2 separate regions of the Homo sapiens genome follow, and region 2 is linked to region 1. Evidence: promoter capture Hi-C in human tissues and cell types (Jung and others, 2019). All regions are on one chromosome and are shown on one strand. The core of a region is centred on a gene start or on the middle of the fragment in contact, and the rest is flanking DNA. Distances in the headings are between cores, read along the strand shown. Region 1 holds the start of IRAK1BP1 (interleukin 1 receptor associated kinase 1 binding protein 1). Region 2 holds the start of LOC124901349 (a long non-coding RNA gene).

Region 1 (3,547 bases), core at 283-2,782:
TATCCCTGTACCATGTAATCATTTTCCACTGATATGAAATCTTTTATCGTATACTAAATACTTACACTTTAACTCCTGTTGCTTTTTGTTTATGACATTCACTCATTCAATAATTTATTTTGGAGGCTATATTCTTCCGCATTTATCGTAAGGGAAAAAGAATTTTTCACCAAGTTTAAGAAACATTATTTTGGGTGTCTTAAATAATAAAAGACTATGACGGAAAGTTCTTAACGTTAGTTTTTAAATTAAAATTGTTTTCAGCTAACAATAAACAAGATGGATATACACAAAATTATGTTAATCTAGTGATGAGCCTAATTAAAGGAGGGGGGTACCATTGATTTAGTTGAATTATACTAATCGAAAAGAACAGAAAAAACGATGGTGAAGAAACTACAAGAGGACTGTCAGCTTTTCAGGGTCCTTTTAAAAGAACAGTTCTTGTCCTTCTAGAACTAGTTATTCAAAATTCTTTTTTCCCCCCTCGATTCTCTTGATAAAATTCAGATAGTAAAGACGTATAAGTCAGTGGGGCTATTTTTACAAAGATCATTGCTTAGTGCTAGGAAGAGAATCCAGAAGACGGGAAGTTGAGGGTTGTGTTCTAAAAGTTCTCTGAAGAAAAGGGTACAGAGAAGCTCCAAGTTGTGCAGGCCCAGCAAACTCCATGTTGGACGTGCTTTGCTACCACCTAAATCTCTTCTGTCGGAATTCAAGGCCCGAACCATTCCAGGGATTTTAGAAAAAAATGGGGAGACACAAAAATGATGCCAAAGCCATAGCTATCATTACAAACATCCATTATGTTCACTCTGCTTTCCATATGCAACGCACTCTACATACAATGGGCGCCTTATAAGCACATAGCAAATGTGAAAAATATTATCAACATTGCTTTGATAATATTAATATATTATATATATTAGAATATATTATATATTAGAATATATTATATATATTAGAATATATTATATATTACTAATATAAAAAATATTATCAACCCTGCTTTAGAGAAGATGATACTGAGATATGAAGAATCATAAACTGTCCAAGATCACAGGGGCAAAAAGTTCACCTCAACTGAAACCTCTCACGAACCACAAAAATGTGGCCGAGGGAGCCTCAAAAAGCAGTACCCCAAGCGGGGACGGTAAAGTCAGAAAAGACAAGGCTGGGGGTAATCACAGAGAAATCTAAAAACCCGCTCGGCCTCGCTACTCTTCTCCTTCCTCTGAGGTGCAGAGGCGCGGTGGGACGACAAGGAGTTGCGAGAAAGGGCAGAGCTCACTGAGGAGGCAACAGAGAAAGTCCGCTAACAATTTTTGAAGGCCGTAAGTTAAACATGTTAAAAACTGTAGCTACTCACTCAGCCGACATCTAGTAAAAAAGATGCGGCAAGATCAACAAGGCATATAGCTTGCGCCCGCCAGAAGTTCCGCGGCCTCCACACCCATCCCGGCATACTTTGCGCCGTGCACAGGCAAGCCCTGGTGCGCATTGGCCCCTTCGGCCGCCGTCGGCCGGTAGTTACTATGGAAACCCAGCTGCCATCGCTATGTCTCTGCAAAAGACCCCTCCGACCCGAGTGTTCGTGGAACTGGTTCCCTGGGCTGACCGGAGCCGGGAGAACAACCTGGCCTCAGGGAGAGAGACGCTACCGGGCTTACGCCACCCCCTCTCCTCAACACAAGCCCAAACTGCTACCCGCGAGGTGCAAGTAAGCGGCACCTCAGAAGTGTCTGCGGGCCCTGACCGGGCGCAGGTGGTGGTGCGAGTGAGCAGCACCAAGGAGGCGGCAGCCGAGGCCAAAAAGAGCGTTTGTCGCCGTCTAGATTACATCACGCAGAGCCTCCAGCAGCAGGGCGTGCAGGTGAGATCTCCGCGGGGGAGGAAATAAGAGCCGGAAGACACAAAAGGGTTGGCAGATGGTCGGGCCCCACAGGCCCCCCTAGCGGGAAGGGAGATGTGGAGGGTCTGGAGCGTTTAGGACGCGTTTGTTGCAAAGGTACTCCGGGACGCCAGGACCTGGCAGAGTGAATATTTGACCCATTCTTCTCCTAGACGAAGGTAATTATTGGCCTCAGGCAAATTAAAAATAAAAGAATGCAAATTGGGTAGGTTTTTATCTGGGGATATTTGCTTCAGTGATTTTGTTTTTAAATTTAAAGTGATGAAATGTTAAAACTTGAAATGTTAGTTGTAAATACTTGCCCACGTGGAGTGCTGGACACTAAATATTTTGTTTTGTTTTGTTTTTATTCCGCACCATGGAATTGGCAAGTGAAGAGCACGACCTGCTTCCTTCCGATCATGTAAAACTTTGCATGGAATGGTTCTTGAGTATGTTCCGCAAACAGTAACGTTGGGAAGTGGGGAAGAAGTTGCGTCCATTTTCATTTTATAATGATTTTCATTTTATAGTGATTCCCCCAAAATTTCTTCGGCCTTCTTAGGTTTAACTTAAAAGAAAAAATCAAGCCAGTATTGTGGATACCACATATACGAAATACTTCTACTTACTTAACGGAGATGTCCATGAGACAAATCACTAAACAAATCTTACCTTAAGCCTACTCCTAAGGCAAGAAAAAAAATGAAGCCATCATTTAATCCACACAATAGCACTGTTAGGCATGTTTTAATATCCCTGTTTTCCAAATTTAAAGAGGTTAAACAATGCTCTGAACTTTAGGTAGAGCAATATTTGAACTCATGTATTCCTGAAACCAGAATGTAAGTTGCTTCCAATTCTGCCGATAATTAGAATGAAAGAAAATTAGAAATCATAGGGATCAACGATTTCAGTTTTCTCATTTTATAGAGTAGGACCCCAAAGGCCAGAGATGTAACTTATCCAGGATGACATTGAGTTGGTAAAAGTGCAGGCATTGTTACTTCCAGTCTATTGCAAGAAATTCCATACCCCGAAAAAGCAAGTCCTTATTTTTAACAAGAAAAGATATTTGAATTGCATTTATAATACAAACATACAAGTTATTACAAAGTCATTTGGACAAGATTTCTTCAAATGATTTTACAATTTAGAAAAATACAGATAATTATAAATAATGTGAGTAAAGTGGGTTTAATATGTAGAAAAATAGTTTTAAAAAACTGCTACTAGTGCTGTAGTCGTTTGAATAATGTTAACAAGTTTTTAAGTTATTTACATAAAATAAAAAGAGCTCACAGGTCTCTAATATATAAAACAACATAAGCTGGGCATGGTGGCTCATGCCTGTAATGCCAACACTTTGGGAGGCCAAGGCAGGTGGATCACTTGAGGCCAGGAGTTCGAGACCAGCCTGGCCAACATGGCAAAACCCAATCTCTAGTAAAAATACAAAAATTAGGTGGGCATGGTGGCACAGTCCTGTAATCCCAGCTACTAGGGTGACTGAGGCAGGAAAATCTCTTGAATCCGGGAGGCGAAGGTTTCAGTGAGCCGAGATGGTGCCACTGCACTCCAGCTTGGGTGACAGAGACTCTGTCTCAAATAAGTAGTAAGTAAATAAATTAACTAAGTCCAACTTAGAGTAATCAA
Region 2 (3,547 bases), core at 395-2,894, 910 kb after region 1:
CTAGATGGTGCCTTCTCCCTGTGTCCTCACACAGTGGAAGGGGCAAGGCAGCTCTCTGGGCCTCTTTTATTTGGGGACCAACCCCATTCATTAGGGCTCCATGGCCTCATGACCTAATCACCTCCCAAAGGCCCCACTTCCTAATGCCATCTCCTGGGGGGTTAGAATTGCAACATCTGAATTTTGAAGAAACACAAACATTCAGATCCTAGCACACTATTTATAATATAAGGAACAGCTATATAGAATCAAGGTTGGAAATGGGTGGTTCAAGAGAAAAATCCTGTACACTAGTTGTTAGTTTGGCCTGTAGAATGATTTTTTAAAAAGCATTTAAAAATAATTTTTAAAAATGAACCTACAATTTGTTAAAAAATTAAGAGATTTTTGCATAAAATACAGATATCTGGCTTTTTTGAAAACCTGGAAGCTCTGGCCACACTAAGCCCATACTGTCTCTGGGTCATAAACATTTGATGCTAGTCCTTTCTGTGTGGTCTCCACAATGTGCTGTGGAAGACAAGGCACAGCTGCCTCCTGCGTTTGTAGAATCTGCTTGAACCCTGTGGGCATCTATGATACCCTGCCCTAGACAATCTCCTAAAACCTGGCCTTAAACTTTTCTTGACCTTCTTTGGCCCAAAAGCTTCCATTCCTTACTTAGGCAAACTTTTCCCATGATCACTCCCTGGACTGTCTATTCTGAAAGTTTCATTTATTTTTTCTATATTGTCTTAATAATAGCCAACTCCCTAGACTGCTATACTTCCCTTAACGTTTTTGTTAATCTTACTAGCAGGTCACACAATGCCTGAATACATTTCTCTGAGACACAGTCATGATGAAAGAGTACATAGCTTCTACATAGACATTAAAATAGAACATTTTTTCCCTAAACTACTTGTCACCTGGCCACTTGTACAATGCCAGCAGATGACTATGGGTCTGACTTGAGAAATAAAACCGAGGGAGTCAGGCTCAGAAATGAACTGCCTTAAAACGCCCTGTACCATATCTAGTCACGTGACAATAAATACAGACATGTTTCTGATACAGTGGTTTCTGTGTACAGGCACACACTGACAGGTACCTTAAAAAAAAAAATGGGATGACAACATACTTGTATATAGGTACTCATCCTCACCTCTCTCTGTCCAATCTTAGAGGAAAATGTGTCTGCTTTAAAGTAACCTATGATCTGTGTCTCCCTGGCACCTCACTGAAGCCGGGAGTCCTCTCTTGACTGTTTTCCTCCACTTTCCACATCTTCCTCCAATTGGTTCCTTCCCTATAAGCTAGAAATACGTTCACATCACTGCCACTAACAAATCTTTGTCCTTACTATATAGGCCTTTGTAGCTACCATCTTTCTCCCCCCATGAGACCACCAGGCTCCCTGGTAAAGTGGTTAACACTCAGTCCATTTATTTTCTTTCCATTCACTCTTCAACCCACTGCCATTAGCTATCCCTTGTACTCCCCAGATATGCTAGGGAAAAACTTATCAATGCTTTCCTAGTTGCCAAATTAATTTATTATTTTACCCTTCATCTTGGTAAATGTGGCCCCGTGTGTGGCACCTGATACAACATATCCCTCCCTTCTTAAAACTCCTTCCCAGGCTTCAAGACTACTGCTGTCTCCTGGGTCCTCTCCATCTCTAGATGTTGTTTCTCAGTTGCCTTCCCTGGTTTCACTCAAAATTCCTGGGGTTTTGGTGGGGAATTGATACAAGATCCTGATCCCCTCACTTCAGGCTGGGAAATTTAACACAGGCAGGGAAAATCAGATGATCATTCCAAGGAATGTAAGTCTGGAGTGCGGACACATGGGGGTGGGGAGCAGTTGTAAGTGGGTCAGCTGATGGCAGCAGCCTAGATGGCAAGCCACAAATTCTCCCCAGAGACCCTGGAGCTCCCTTCCTCTGTTCTCTCACGGCCTGAGTATTCAGCTGTTTATACTGTGACCTATGCAGCAGGTTTCCAATAAGTTATTCTTTATACAGTGCTTACAGTTACTACATCTGGTTTCTTTTACTTGTAACTAAAGACCTTTAATAGATACCCTAGAGCTTTGCCCTAAGGTATCTTCTCTCCTCTGTGCACATGGGCTTTCTTCCTGGTAGCCCCATTCACTCTCATGGCTTCAGCCACCATCCATATGTTCTTGACTCCTTATTTATATCTTTAGCCTAGAGATCTCTCATGAACTCTCCACCTGCAAATATAATCACTGTACCTAACGATTCTTCTCTTGGGTGACCCCCAGGAACCCAGAACTCAACATGTCCCAAAGTGCACTCATGGACTTTTCCCCGAAATCTGCTTCTCGCTTTTCCATTCTCTAACTCAGTGCCTGACACCACCATCCATTCAGTCACTCCAGCCAAATACCTCTCCTTCTCACTCCCTAATAGATTAGCAGTTGCTTGGTCCCCTCAGTTCCCCTTCTTAATGCCTCTCTTAATTGTTTACCTCTCTCTGCCTCTCCTCCCTATCTCAGGCCCTCAGCACTCCTCCCCTTGACCATTGTGGCAGTCTCCTAACTTGCATCCACTCTCATCTCCTTCTCCCTCTCCATCCATTCACTACAATCCATACACTAGAGTCTCATTTCTAAAGCAGTCTTTGCTCAAGTATCTCCTCTGTTTAAAATCCTTTTTCTCCTATTGCCTAAAAAGGCCAACTACTTAACGTGGCAAACAAAGCCTTTCAGATCTTACTTCTGCCCACTTTGCAGGCAGCCTGATATCTTGATTCCTCTTTCCTCATTGTAATCCCCAAACTCTAGTCATGTTGACCAAGCTGCCCTCCACCAAGACGCCACCCTCCTCATGCCCCCTCCAGCCCTCTGTGCTTCCCGCTCCCTTTGCCTGGAATGCCCTTCCCCACCCACCCAGACATCTGCTTAGTAAACACCTACCCATCTCTTTCTTCAAAAGGTTATCCGTGTTTTTAAAAATAAAAATAGCAATTTTATTGGAAAAAAGAAAGAAAACACAGAGAAGTTTCATGAAGAAATAAAGATGACCTAAAAAGCCTACCACCACTTAGAAACAAATGTAGATTGGAGTGGGGGAACATGTTTCCCTATCCTGGCTTCTCAGCAAAGCTGTGGTTGATGGGTAGTGAACTCGCCAGAGAGGCAGTAAGTGGCCCGGTGGTTGCAAGAGGTTGAGGGCAGGAGGGAATGGGGAGTTAGTGTTTCATGGGTTCAGGATTGCAGTTTGGGAAGACAAAAAAGTTCTGGAGACGGACAGTGGCGATGGTTGCACAAAAATGTAAATGTACTTAACGCCACTGAACTTTACACTGTTAAAAATCATTAAAATGGTGAATTCTCTGTTACGGGTATTTTACCATAATTTTTAAAAAGAGGAAAAAGGAAACAAGACTGATCTCAAGGGGTAGCAGTTTCAGTAACATTTTTTTCTTTTTTCTTTTTCTTAGAAAGGGAACTGGCTGACGTTCATGGTGGGGGAGATGGAAGGAACTGGTAGAAACGAGAAACAAAAAACCCAAGAGAGATTTCATTTTTCACTAGGATG

The links. Contacts are between HindIII fragments. The study calls those that stand out against the background at their distance.
Region 2: a contact is called between a fragment that was not itself captured here and the fragment with the promoter of IRAK1BP1 in region 1, in 1 of the 25 tissues and cell types used here (dorsolateral prefrontal cortex).

What each region holds. Positions count from the first base shown.
Region 1 is chr6:78,866,019-78,869,565 of GRCh38, forward strand. It overlaps IRAK1BP1 (interleukin 1 receptor associated kinase 1 binding protein 1), which reads left to right and starts at 1,533. Exons shown (of 4, transcript NM_001010844.4): 1 at 1,533-1,873. The coding sequence starts at 1,559. It overlaps LOC107986613 (a long non-coding RNA gene), which reads right to left and starts at 1,472. Exons shown (of 2, transcript XR_001744210.2): 1 at 1,370-1,472. RefSeq lists enhancers at 1,428-1,537, 1,568-1,887, 1,720-2,320. The HindIII fragment of the contact is 12,955 bases long and covers 1-3,547 here.
Region 2 is chr6:79,774,399-79,777,945 of GRCh38, forward strand. LOC124901349 (a long non-coding RNA gene) reads left to right here and starts at 3,450. Exons shown (of 2, transcript XR_007059655.1): 1 at 3,450-3,547. The HindIII fragment of the contact is 4,720 bases long and covers 1-3,547 here.